3 separate regions of the Homo sapiens genome follow, and regions 2 and 3 are each linked to region 1. The links are contacts of gene promoters, found by promoter capture Hi-C in human tissues and cell types (Jung and others, 2019). All regions are on one chromosome and are shown on one strand. The core of a region is centred on a gene start or on the middle of the fragment in contact, and the rest is flanking DNA. Distances in the headings are between cores, read along the strand shown. Region 1 holds the start of ZCCHC24 (zinc finger CCHC-type containing 24). Region 2 has its middle 13 kb from the start of PLAC9. Region 3 overlaps TMEM254-AS1 (TMEM254 antisense RNA 1).

Evidence for each region. Contacts are between HindIII fragments. The study calls those that stand out against the background at their distance.
Region 2: a contact is called between a fragment that was not itself captured here and the fragment with the promoter of ZCCHC24 in region 1, in 2 of the 25 tissues and cell types used here (aorta and liver).
Region 3: a contact is called between a fragment that was not itself captured here and the fragment with the promoter of ZCCHC24 in region 1, in 1 of the 25 tissues and cell types used here (heart left ventricle).

Annotation. Positions count from the first base shown.
Region 1 is chr10:79,443,008-79,447,645 of GRCh38, forward strand. It overlaps ZCCHC24 (zinc finger CCHC-type containing 24), which reads right to left and starts at 2,617. Exons shown (of 4, transcript NM_153367.4): 1 at 2,188-2,617. The coding sequence starts at 2,433. It overlaps LOC105378383 (a long non-coding RNA gene), which reads left to right and starts at 3,234. Exons shown (of 4, transcript XR_946104.4): 1 at 3,234-4,638. RefSeq lists silencers at 2,470-2,529, 2,540-3,049. The HindIII fragment of the contact is 26,514 bases long and covers 1-4,638 here.
Region 2 is chr10:80,117,336-80,121,973 of GRCh38, forward strand. No RefSeq gene overlaps it. Among named protein-coding and RNA genes, the nearest start is that of PLAC9, 13 kb to the right of the region's middle. The HindIII fragment of the contact is 5,076 bases long and covers 115-4,638 here.
Region 3 is chr10:80,058,759-80,063,396 of GRCh38, forward strand. It overlaps TMEM254-AS1 (TMEM254 antisense RNA 1), which reads right to left. Exons shown (of 4, transcript NR_027432.1): 2 at 2,058-2,175. Among named protein-coding and RNA genes, the nearest start is that of TMEM254, 18 kb to the right of the region's middle. The HindIII fragment of the contact is 3,519 bases long and covers 325-3,843 here.

The sequences.
Region 1 (4,638 bases), core at 1,367-3,866:
GCCCTCTCTTGTTTGAACAGGTCTCAAATACTATAGATATACCATCCTGGGGTGTAGCAGAGACTAAATTTAACAGATAGGTAAGCTAAGGCCCAGAGAGAGACGGGGTTCCCTGAAGTCAGGTTGTGAAAGACATTTCCCCACCACTGCACTATACAGTATAACCTTTTCCTGCTCCTTTCACACTGTGTGACTTTATGGGGAAACTGAGGTACGCAGCAATGAAGTGACAGAGGGCAGTTCTCACTGAGCTCCGGTTGGGATCCTGGATGCCAGAAATTTTCAAAAAGCAGCACAACATCCTATTCTTATAGGGTACTCTTGATGGTTCCAAACTCCCAGGTCCTCTCAGGGGAGACCCACAGGTGGGGAACAATGCCACCATGGTAGGGGGAGCAGAGGGAGGCTAGAAGAGGTTGATTAGGGGTCCACACTTGACCTGTGGGTCATGTTCACCCTTCTCCCAGGGTGAGAAACTCCCGTGGGGCTCCCACAAGCACCCCCATCAAATCACCCACCATTCATACCCTCTATCACCTTGTCTGTTTACTCATCCGTGGCCCCCACTAGCCTGTGGCTGTGAATCCCCGGGTCCTGCCCAGAGCTCAACAAATGTTTGGTAAGAGAACAAACAACTGAAAAGACGCATGCACCAAAGAAACACCCCACAAACGGTCCTCCAGTCACTGGTCACCTGAAGCCAATTCCCTGAAGAGGCAGAAAAGTCTCTTACAAGAAAGAAAGATCCCCAGCCAAGAACCATTCCTCACGTGGAGAGAATGCTTTACAGTTTACAAAGAGCTTTGGCATAGAAATGCTTTTGCCTGACACCAAAGGGTGCACTTTCAGACTCATCTTCCTCCTCTGCACCCAGCCCCCTCCCACGCCTGTTCTACCCACCCAGGTCAACAGGTCAGCCTGGGTAGTGTTGGCCTTGGGCCAGCATTTTATATGTCCATGCCTCCCCTAGTAAATAATGGCAGAGTTGAACTCAAGGGCGACCCTCTGCCTCCCTCTCTTACCCCCAGCACACCCTTGCGTACATAGGCTTTCCTCCCCAACCCATTCAGGACTCTGACTCTCCTAAAACTCACCGGTGTGCCCAGGTCTGGAAGGAAAGTGACCCCCATGTGTGTCCTCCCCCGAACACACCTCTTGCATCTTTGCAGAGAAAACCCCCACAAGGGGAGGAAGTGAAGGCCACAGATGGGTGTCTGAAATTCCCAAATGAGGCAGGAGTAAATGGAGGGAGGGGAGGAGTCCAGCCCACGGAAAGGAGTGGTATCTGGGCAGGCCCTGGAGACTCTTCAAAAAGGGCTGGGAGGTGGTGGCGATCTGTGTATTTATCTTGCTGGCAAAGAGGCGCTGCCCAGTCAACTTTGTAACTGAATCCACCAAACAGGCAGACTTTGCAACACAGCCGGCCCAGGTTTCTGCAGAAGGCGCTGGGCAGCTGGAACCTCTCCCCCCCCCTTTCTAGCCCCCCTCCCAAGAGCTCAAGAGGATTTCCCTTTCATTTCCTTCGAGGCTGGGAGGGCTGGGGACAGCGCAGTCTGTGGGGTCAAGCCCTCAGAAACCACTTCCTATGTGGCTGGGGGAGGGCGAGCAGCTGGAGGACGTATCTGGGGTCCCCGAGTGAGAACAGCAGGAGAAGCCCTCTGGGCAGTCACTGCTCTCCAGGGTGCCTTTCGGGTCGGGAACCGCAGAGGTCGGAGAAAAGATTTTAGGCCCTTCCAGAGGAGCTCCGAGCAGAATCTGCACTCTCGGTCCCAGCCCGCGGTGGCCAGGACGAGGATAAGGTTGGGCGTGAGAAGGACACTTCGAAGGGGCTCCCCGCCCAGGCCGCACCCCAGCTGTCTGAAGAAAATCCGGAGACAACCCCTCCTCAACTCCCTCCCCCAACCCCTTTGGAGCAGGGCTGCCCTGGCAGGGAGAGGGGGCGGGAGAGCTCCGCCCCGGCCTGCATTGCTCCAGCCCGGGCTCAGCCGGGAGGTGACGCGCACCCGGCACCCCGGGGACTTCGGGCGGCGAGTTTGGCAGAGTTGAACGAAGCCAAGCCAAGCCGGGCCCGGCAATGCGGAGCCGGGCCGCGCCAGGCCAGGAAGAGCGGGTCAGACAGGGAACGGCCCGCCACGGTGGGGCGGTGGGGCGGTGGGGCGGTGGGCGGGGGCGCGCGGGGGCACCCACCTCTCCGCGCTGCAGCTGGAAGAAGCTGTTGAGATAGCTGGAGTGCAGGGGCGAGCCCAGCTGCTCGGGGCGGCCCTTGCCGAAGGCCAGCTCCGGGGGTGCGGCGCCGGCGGTCGGCTCGGGCCGGAAGGCATCGAAGGCGCTAGCCTGGTGCGTGTCCTGCAGCGACAGGTAGACCCAGTTGAGCAGCTGGGCGGGCTGGTACACCGAGGCGGCGCTCGTGTCGATGGCCGACAGCAGGCTCATTTTGTGGCGGCGGTGCCGGCCCCTCCCCGGCCGCCCGCTCGCGGCCCCCCTCCGCAGCGGAGGGGCGGGCACCGGGGAGCCTGTGCCCACTGCCCGCCTCCCGAGCCCCGACGGTGATCGCCCCGCGCCCTGCGCCCCGCGCGCTGCCCGCAGCCGCTGCCGCTGCCGCCGCCTCCCCCCGACTGCGGCCCCGGCGCGCGCAGGCGGTGGAAGGAGGCAGCGAAAGTTGGGCAGGAAACTTTTGGCCCCGCCCCTCCGCCCCGCCCACTGCGTCCCGCCCCGCCCGGCGATCCGCTATCTGCCTCGCGGCTGACCCCTCCAGCGGCGGCTCCGGGGGTGGGGTCCACGATGCCCCGCCGCCCACTCCCTGCCCCGCCTGGCACTGTCCTCGCCCTGCATTGGCTGTCTCGTTGAATATGAACCGTCAGGGGTGGGGAGAGAGGGGAGTGAGGCTCATCTGCATATGCAGCACGGCGCGGGCCCGCCCATGCGAGGCCCCGCCCAAGCCCCACCTCGTCCCAGCCCGGCCAACCCAGCTCCCCGAGCTGCCGGGAGCTCAGTGCAGCCCCGGCCTAATCAATTTCGTCTCCCTCTGTCGTCAGCGCTCTTGTCTCGTTCTTTCCAAATCCTCTGCAATTGTTTTTCACTCACTTTTCCTTTCCTATTTTCCCTCCTTTCTCATACTCCTTCTTTCTCTCTCTCTTAGACTAGTACTAGTCTCCTGTGTCCGTCGTCCTTGTATGTGGCGCCCTCCGTGTGTGTGTGTGTGTGTGTGTGTGTGTGTATGTCCTTCTCTTTCTCTCACTCTTCTTGTCTCCTTTCTTCTATTTCCGTCTGGTCTGATGTTTCTCCCTGTCTCTCCCGCTCCTCTCTCAGACGCGTGTACACAGACGCACACACTTCTAACTCCCTCCTCTCGCTATCACCATCGGACCCTCCCCCTCCTACTTAATTCCTTCCATCTGCAGAATCACTTTGCGGGCCGGCTGCGCCAAGGGGGGCCCGGGTTCCTGCCCCAGGAAAGACTCCCCGCCCCCTCCCCCCCCCCTTCTCCTATTTCTGCTCTGGGCCCGCCTCGCTTCTCGACCCTCTTCCTCCACCCCGGCTCCAGCCCTAGCCCGCCCCGGTGCCTTGGCGAGTCGCCAGGACACCAGCCTGGGCCGGGGGAGCTCGGGAAAGCGGCTGTCACCCATCTCGCTGGGACAACTCAGCTAGTCCAAGACTGCCTGGAGGGAGCCCCGCCCCCGCCTCCGCCTCCGCCTGACGCCCCAGGAAGCCCCGGGGCCTTCACCGTCTCTTTCTCCGGGTGGTCTTTGCTGCGCCAGCACCGGGGACCTAGCCCAGAGGAACTCACCGCCTGGCTGGGACCGAGTCACCTCTCCCACTTTCAGTCTGGCTCTGGAGCCATTCCGCCCAGCGTTGGAGTGCCAGCTTGGCCACCGTCCAGCGGAATGACCTCTGCATGACGCCTAACCTCTGCGAGCAAGCCTGTTTTCTCCTCTGTAAAATGGGAGCAGTCATCCTCCCGCCGCCGGGGACATTTGTGTGCTTCCCAGCTTGGGTTTGGTAAGCGGAAGATATTCCATAAAGGACAGCTCTTCCCCGCCACCCACTCCACGAGTTACTCACATCACCTGCAGGGCACCTAACCACATCTATGGTCGCTCGCACCACGAAGGCCTTCAGTGATGACCAAATGCCACCCTTTTTCACCAACCAAGAGGCCCTTGGATCTCAGATCTCCATCTTGTCTATCAATTTGCAGTTATTAATACAAACGACAGCATATGTATCAATCATGTCTTCATATTTTCATTCATCAAGAACACATCTATACAGTACCCTTTATATTTTTAAACAGTATTAAACCTATTTGTTTAAAGAGTAGGTACACGGTTCTTGCAAATGGCTCACCTGTAATCCCAGCACTTTGGGAGGCCAAGGCAGACAGACTGCTTGAGCCCAGGAGTTCCAGACAAGCCCTGGAAACATGGCAAAACCTCATCTCTACAAAAAAATGCAAAAATTAGCCGGGCGTAGTGGCGCATGCCTGTGGTCCCAGTTACTCAGGAGGCTGAGGTGGAAGGATCACTTGAGCCCAGGAGGTGGAAGCTGCAGTGAGTCGAGATCATGCCACTGCACTCCAGCCTGGGCAACAGAGTGAAACTTTGTACCCCCCGCCCCCACACCAAAAGAAATAGTTGG
Region 2 (4,638 bases), core at 1,403-3,902, 670 kb after region 1:
TCAAAAAAAAAAAAAAAAAAAAAAATCTTATAAAAGTTTGCTTTTATAAGACCATACGGTTTATCATATAATGTATAATATTTTATAATATATAATGCATATAAAACACATCATATGCATTTTAACACATGAAATTTACTAACAATCTTAAAAAATTTTGTTTAATATTCATGGCCTTGTTTCCCTAGTTTACTGTTTGTTGTCTTCACCTATACTATGAAGGGTTATTCTTTTTTTCTATGTAAATCTACCTAGATAGCAAAGATTCAGTGTTTTACCAGAATTATTTTTTGATTTTCATGTTGATTTTATTATGCCCTTGGTTATTTAAAGAAACAAGATTTGTTATTTAGGAGGGAGCTAAAGTTCTTTATGATCATGTTATTTTCTATCTTTATTTTTATTTATTTTTATTTATTTTCTTTTTTTTTTAGAGACAGAGTTTCACTCCTGTTGCTCAGGCTGGAGTGCAGTCATGTGATCTCTGCTCACTGCAATCTCAGCCTCCTGGATTCAAGTGATTCTCCTGCCTCAGCCTCCCAAGTAGCTGGGATTACAGGTGCCTGCCACCACGCCCAGCTAATTTTTTGTATTTTCAGTAGAGGTGGACTTTCACCATGTTGGTCTCAAACTCCTGACCTCAGCTGATCCATCTGCCTCGGCCTCCCAAAGTGCTGGGATTACAGGAGTGAGCCACTGCACCTGGCCTATTTTTAAATGTTGTATTGTCTCTTACAAATGGGTAGGCAAGTACTACTTCTCAGATGCCTATGATCCTACACTAAGTATTCAAATCTCCTGACAATTTTGTATTTTGCATTCCCAAAATTAGTCCTAAATGTGAAATAAAATAAAATAAAAGGAATGATAGCTGAGCTTTCCCAGACATACCATTGAAAATCACAAAAGATTTGTTACTTCCCCTTATGAAAAGAGAGGTGCCAGAAATAAATAGGTGTATTTGATATGTTACTATTGGTGAATTACACAGGAATAGATGAGATTATTTTTTATCAAAAGAGAGGGAAAGTGTAGGAAAATTTTCTTTCAATGGAAAATTAAGTATTGTCTATAGCACACCCTTTCACTTTATCTGCTTTTGATTCCATGGGAGCCATTTTACAGCTTGTAAAATGTAGATAACTGATAGAAATGAAAACTAATTCTTGGCTCTAGATCTGTACATTTAATCCTGCCAGTAGAGGTTCAATTGACTTCCCTTTCCCACCCTGGAAGAAGCTGGCTTGAGCTCTGTTGGTGAATGTGTTTCAACATTCCTTTGCTCCATATAATTGAGCTTTTCTGACTTCTCCTTTGAATTAGTTATAATCTGCCATTGGAGAGTCATGATTTTATCTTTTTTTTTTTTTTTTGAGATAGCGTCTTGCTCTGTCGCCCAGGCTTGAGTGAAGGGATGCAAGCTTGGCTCACTGAAGCCTTGACCTCCTGGGCTCAAGTGATTCTCCAAACTCAGCCCCCTGAGTAGCTAGAACTACATACATGAGCCACCATGCCTGGCTAATGACGATGATGATGATGATGATGATGATGATGATGATGATGTAGCAGGGGGTTGCACTATATTGCCCAAGCTGGTCTTGAACTCCCAGCCTTAAGCGATCTTCTCACCTCAGTTTCCCAAAATGCTGCTATTATAGGCATGAGCTGCCACTCCAGGCTGATGATTTTATCTTTTTAATAAATGAATCTTTTAACAATAAGGACAATATAAGTTAGTTCATTACAAATGATGGAAGCTTATTGCATTAGAGTTTTATTCTCCTCCTTAATCCTTGTTGCAAATACCTGGAAGGCAGTAACGGAAAGACCATTAGCTGGTATTAACCTTCAACTCTGGAATATGGCACCATCTCCTACCTTGCCCCTGGCAGTTACTTTCCTCCCCTACACTTATGCAGCCTCCTAGCTGGTTGGGGCTATACTATCTTCCCTCCCTACACCAGCAGGTGGGACTGGATCAAGAGTCCTAGGCAGAAAAGAGAGGGAGAGAGAGAGAGAGAAATCAAACTTGTGAAAAGAAGGGGGAAGCTGGGCGCGGTGGCTCACGCCTGTAATCCCAGCACTTTGGGAGGCCAAGTGGGGTGGATCATTTGAGGTTAGGAGTTCAAGACCAGCCTGGCCAACATGGTGAAACCCTGTCTTTACTAAAAATACAGAAATTAGACAGGTGTGGTGGCGCACACCTGTGATCCCAACTACTCGGGAGGCTGAGGCAGGAAAATTGCTTGAACCCAGGAGATAGAGGTGCAGTGAGCTGAGATTGCGCCATTGCACTCCAGCCTGGGCAACAGAGTGAGACTCCGTCTCAAAAAAAAAAAAGAAGAAGAGGGAATAAAAGAAAATTAAACAAGAGTCCCAGTCCTGGAAGGAAAATATCAATCCTAGTCTGGAAGGGAAGAGAAGCGGAGCAGGTTTAGAGGTTAGTCCTATTGTATTCATTTTATGGGGTCGGTGCAGCAGCTGAGTTGACATAAAGATATAAATGAGGCTTAGGGCAAGGAGATGAATATTTTAAGAAACTTTTTATTGATGGATCATGTATATACATTTTAAGAATTAAACACACCCATGAAATCAGCACCCAGACCAAATGACAGAACATTACCAGCAGCTCAGAAGCCCCCCCATTTCTCTTGCAGGAAATTGATACTGAGTTCTTGTGGCATGGATTAATTTTGCTTGGTTTGTACTTTATATCAATTGTATTATACAGCATTTTTTGAGAAAATTTCTTTCATCAATTGTATTTTCATCCATAATGTTGCATGTAGTGGTAGGTCATTCATTCTTTAGTCTGATGTCAATGGGAATTTGAGTAGTTTCCAGCTTAGGACTATTATAATAGTGCAGCTATGATCATTCTTGTTTTTCTTTTCTCTTCCTTCCTTCCTTCCTTCCTCTCTTTCTGTCTTTCTCTTTCTTTCTCTCTTTCTTTCTTTCTCTCTTTCTTTCTTTCTTTCTTTCTTTCTTTCTTTCTTTCTTTCTTTCTTTCTTTCTATCTAGGGTCTCACTCTGTTCCCCAGGTTGGAGTGCAGTGATACGATCTCGGCTCACTGCAGTCTCTGACTCCCAGGCTCAAGCCATCCTCCTACCTCAGCCTCCCGAGTAGCTGGGACTACAGGCATGCACCACCACACCCAGCTAATTTTGTATTTTTAGTGGAGATGGGGTTTCGCCATGTTGCCCAGGCTGGACTCAAGCAATCTGCCTGCCTCAGCCTCCCAAAGTGTTGGGATTACAGGCGTGAGCCACCACACCCATCTTGATCATTTTTATCCATATTTTTTATGACCATGCATTTCTGCTAGGTTTATGCCTAGGAATGGAATTGCCAGGTCATATTTATTTCTATGTCTGTCAATCTGTGTATATATTAAATACGAGGAGCTCATGCCAATGCCTCTTATTCTAATTTAACACAACAGGGTTCACTCTGCCCTTCCCTTTTCATTTGTAGTTCTTTCTTTGACAGTGAGAAGCCTACCTCCCACTAAATACAATATATTTACTTAATTGCTCAATCCCAGAATACCGATAAAATAGTTTCAGAGTTGGTAACCTATATTCCCTAGCTCTGTCTGCTGAGAGGGCCTAGAGGCAGTGACACCCCAGTAACAATGAGGACATCCAGTACCCAGATCTTAGTTTCTAAATACCATTCCCTCAAAAAAGGAAGCAGAGTTTTTTGGAGAAATGATTAAGTATAGGGCGGGGTCAGTGAAATTATAAAATAATCCTGGAACATCTTATGTCAGAAAGAAAGTGCTCAAAATACAATAAGGGCATTTCAAACAAACACAGGGGGGTGACTTGAAGACTCTCACAGTGGCTGTACCTGGGACAACTGGAGCAATGAGACAAATGATGTTGGTCATGAATTATCACTGGCAGAATAAACTAAATATCCACGAGTCTATACTGAAATAATTGCAAAAGTAATTGGGAGGCAAGGGACAGCTGTTCCTTACCAATGAATTACAATTAATAAATAGAGAAGGAATTGTGAAAGTAGAAAAATCACCTGTTGGAAAACACAGCGGTAATGATTATTGCAGACAAGAATCGCCAATGAATGCCAAAATTGCTGGGTGAAAGTATGATAATAAACAAGATATTTGCATAGTGTCCAAGATATCTCCTCATAAGATACTCATTAAGTTCAAAAGGAAAAATAGGATTTTGCAATGGAGAAATCTTTGCCACATCGTCTCTCAAAGTTATCATCTCCAGTAATGGGATGCTGCAATATTACATGTGCCTCCTGATATAATGCATGGGGAAGGGTATAACCTCACTCCTGTGGTGTTCTCACCAAAAACACATAACGTCATTCTCATTTTGAGAAAGCATTATACAAACTCAAGTTGGAGGACATTCTACAAAATAATTGGCCAGTACTCTTCAAGAGTGTCAAGTTTACGAAAAACAAAAATAACTAGCCTGGATGCTTCAAAACTGTCAAAATTATGAGAGGAGGAGAAAGACTGAGGAGCTGTCCTGAATGGAAGGATCCTACTGAGACACGGCAGCGGAATGCCACTTGCAGTCCTGGATTGCATTCTGGAGCAGAAAAAGGACGTCAGTGGCGCTACTGGCAATACTGAATAAGGCTTGTGG
Region 3 (4,638 bases), core at 834-3,333, 620 kb after region 1:
TCTCCCAGGTTCAAGCAATTCTCCTGCCTCAGTCTCGCGAGTAGCTCGGATTACAGGCACGCGCCACCACACCCAGCTAATTTTTGTATTTTTTGTAGACACTAGGTTTACGCAACTTCGCCGAGGCCGGTCTCGAACTCCTGAGCTCAAGTGATCCACCCACATTGGCCTCCCAAACGCTGGGATTACAGGCTTGAGCCACCACGCCCACTCGTGCTTTATTCTCAGTAACCTTGAAATCACACTAGGTGGCGACCTTCCCCGTCCGCCCCCATCAAGCTGCTTCCAAAAACATTTTTACCAGGCACCTTCACTTTCTTTCTTTTCATTCTTTTCTCAACTCCAGTCTCTCTGTTCTCACTGCATTGTTTAGACATCATTGGTAAAAGTTAACAAATCAGGTCCTAAATTGCCCGATCATACGGTTAATCTTCTTTCCTAAGTCATCGAACATTGTTAGCCAATCTTTGTCTTCCTTGAAAGCTCCCCTACTTCAGATTTTTTTTCTTCTTGCTGTTGCCCAGGCTGGAGTGCAGTGGCGCGATCTCGGCTCACTGCAACCTCCGCCTCCCTGGTTCAATCGATTATCCCATCTCAGCCTCCTGAGTAGCTTGGATTACAGGCGCAAGCCACAACGCCCGGCTAATTGTATTTTTAGTAGAAACAGGGCTTCACAATGTTGGCCAGGCTGGTCTCCAACTCTTGACCTCAGGTGATCCGCCCACCTCAGCCTCCCAAAGTGCAGGGTTACTTACAGGTGTGAGATTCTTTCCTTTTTTTTTTTTTTTTTTTTTTTTTTTTTTTTTTTTTGAGACGGAGTATTGTTCTGTTGCCCAGGCTGGAGTGCAGTAGCATGATCTCGGCTCACTGCAACCTCCACCTCCCGGGTTCAAGCAATTCTCCTGCCTCAGCCTCCTGAGTAGCTGGGACTACAGGTGCCCGTCACCACGCCCGGCTAATTTTTTTTTGCATTTTTAATAGAGACGGGGGTTTCACTGTTAGCCAGGATAGTCTCGAACTCCTGACCACGTGATCCAACCACCTCGGCCTCCCAAAGTGGTGGGATTACAGGCGTGAGCCACCACACCCGGCCCTGGCCCAGATTCTTTATCAAGCTCGGCTTTGGTGGATGTCCACTGAGTCCTTAATCCTTTTTCAAAATATCGCGAAACAGTAAGGGCCCAGCTTATACTGAGTGCTATGTATTGAGACCTGCAATGCAGCTGTGAATAGCACAAATGCAGTCTCTGAAAATCAACGTTCTGGTGAACTTTTAAAAATACGTAACTCCTGGCCGGGCGAGGTGGCTCAGGCCTGTAATCCCAGCACTTTGGGAGGCCGAGGCAGGTGGATCACGAGGTCAGGAGATCGAGACCATCCTGGCTAACACGGTGAAACCCCGTCTCTGCTAAAAATACAAAAAATTAGCCGGGCGTGGTGGCGGGCGCCTGTATTCCTAGCTACTTGGGAGGCTGAGGCAGGAGAATGGCGTGAACCCGGGAGGCGGAGCTTGCAGTGAGCTGAGATCCTGCCACTGCACTCCAGCCTGGGCGACAGAGCGAGACTCTGTATCAAAAAACAAAACAAAACAAAACAAAAATATATACATAGCTCCCAATTATCACCTGCAAAGCAAAGTCAGAATGTATTAGAATGCCTGGCAGGGAGTTTCATGACCTAACTACTATTAAACTCCCATTCAGACCAGGAGTGGTGGCTCACATCTGTAATCCCAGAATTTTGGGAGGCCAAGACAGATGGATCACTTCAGGTCAGGAGTTCGAGACCGGCCTGACCAACATGGCAAAACCCCGTCTCTACTAAAAATACAAAAATTAGCCAGGTATGGTGGCACATGCCTGTAATCCCAGCTACTCAGGAGGCTGAGGCATGATAATCGCTTGAACCTGGGAGTCGGAGGTTGCAGTGAGTTGAGATAGTGCCACTGCACTCCAGCCTGGGTGACAGCAAGACTCTATCCCCTCCAAAAAATATTTTTTAATAATTAAAATTTAAAAAAAATTATACTACCATTCAGCTTCGCCTTTGAGACTCACCACCTGCGAAATCTTTGTTCTAATAACCAGCCTTGTCCATTTCTAGGTGCTGAGATACTCTCGGCCCTCTTGGCTTCGTCCATCTGCTTCAGATGCCACAGAAGAGTTCCAAGTGACTCTGGAAAAAAAAAACACTTTGACCAAAACAAAGTTATCAACATGGCAATTTGATTTTAATGGTTATCTGGTTAAAATGAAAAAGACATCATTAGCAACAGGTGTGTAAGATTCTAGTGTTCTGTAAAATGATCTTGTTTTCCTTAAGTGTTCTTTTTTTTTTTTTTTTTCCAGGGTTGGGGGCAGGAAATTCCCAGCTTTTGGGGACATTTTTCCCCACTTTTTGGATACAATGAATTCATTGGATACAATGAATTCATTGGATACAATGAATGTTAAAAGTTCCATTAACTTAATGTCCAAAAGCAAGTTTAGTCCTTTGGTTTCCCTACTTCAAAATGTAGCATTTGCCTTCTTCATGACCAAAAGTAAACATGTTTGTAAAGCTATTTATCATTACTATTAAAGCTTGACAAAACCAGTGAATTTGGCAAATCAGTGATTCAGCAAATTGGCTTTCAACACATTTTGTTGATGATTTTATGTCAATTGACTATTCAATACATTTATATTTTCTCAAACTGAATTTCAGCTACTTGTCTGCTTCTTTCACATCACAAAACTTATTTCACTAAATTGTAACAATACAGAATAACTAACATTTATTATGTTTTTAATTTGTGCCACTTTTAAGCTAACTGCTGGCCGGGCCTGGTGGCTCATGCCTGTAATCCCAGCATTTTGGGAGGTCGAGGCAGGCAGATTACTTGAGGCGTGAAGTTCAAGACCAGCCTGGCCAACATGGCGAAATCCCCATCTCTACTAAAAATACAAAAATTAGCCGGGTGTAGTGGCACACACCTATAATCCCAGCTATTCAGAGGCTGAGGCACGACAATCCTTTGAGCCGGGGCATGGAGTTTGCAGTGAGCTAAAATCATGCCAATGTACTCCAGCCTGAGTGACAGAGGGAGACTCCCTCTTAAAAAAAAATAAGCTATTCACTTTCCAAACATAGATATATATGTTTGAAAAGTGATATATATACATATTATATATATATATATATATATATTTTAAGTTATATAGGTCAAATTTCTGCACAAAATCTAATTATCATCATTATCATTATTTGAAGATTTTTAGGAAGGGCAAACACACCCTGGTTTCCTCCCTTCTACTACAACACCCTCGTGGATTATCCCTGCCCCCTCATTCATTAATTCAATGCTCTGAGAACATTTCTGTTTGTAATCTTTGAATACAGAATCTCATAAGTGCTAAATAGAAACCTGTATTAAAACATTATTATGCTGCCTCTAGTAAATTCTTTTTGATTATTCCGTTGTCTGTCATATGAACTACAGTATGCTCAACCTGAGATAATTTGTCTTGTTCGCAGTTGACTCTACGAAAAGAGTCAAACTCTGTAAAACATTTGAAGAGATTTATTCTGAGCCAAATATGAGTGAACATGGCCTGTGACACAGCCCTCAGGATGTCCTGAGAACGTGTGCCCAAGCTGGTCGGGGTGCAGCTTAGTTTTATACATTTTAGGGAGACATGATAATTCCATCAAGTATATTTAAGAAATATGGCCAGGTGCAGTGCCTCACGCCTGCAATCTCAGCACTTTGGGAGGCTGAGGTGGGCAGGTTGCTTGAGGCCAGGAGTTTAAGACCAGCCTGGCCAACATGGCAAAACCCTGTCTCTACTAAAAATATAAAAATTCGCCGGGCATGGTGGCATGCGCCTGTGATCCCAGCTCCCAGGTAGGCTGAGGCACAGGAATCGATTGAACCCGGGAGGCAGAGGTTGCAATGAGCCGAGATTGTGCCACTGCACTCCAGCCTGGGCGACAGAGCAAGATTCTGCTCAAAAAAACAAAAACAAAAACAAACAAACAAAAAAAAAAAAACAGGAAAAGAAAGAAATACATTGGTTTGGTCCAGGAAGGTGAGACAACTCAAAGCTGTGGGTGTGTGTTGGGGGGTGCTTCCAGCTTATAGGTAGATTTAAAATTTTCCTGGTTGACAATTGGTTGAGTTTATCTAAAACCCTGGGATCAACAGAAAGGAATGTCTAGGTTAAGACAAAGGATTGTGGAGACCCACATTCTTATTTACAGAGGAAGCCTTAGGTAGTAGGTTTCAGAGAGAATAGGTTGTAAAATGTTTTTTATCAGACTCAAAGTCTGTGCTGATGTTAATGTCAGAGACGTATAACAAGGCATGTCTCACTGCCACTTCCCATCATGGTCTGAAACAGTCTCTCAGGTTAAATTTTAAAAGAGCCGTGACTGAGGAGAAAGTACATTCAGATGGTTGGAGGGCTTTAGAATTTTATTTTTGGTTTACATTCTCCCCCTTCTGGCCAATATTTACCAGAGGCAACATCAAAGGCCATCAAATCTTTATTTTGTCCCATAGCATTGCCAGGGTGGCGTGGCTGCCTGTCCCCCATCCATCCTGTCCCTTGGTGGGACTTCCTATGGCTGAGGGCCTTAAGAGTCAAAAGACTGGCC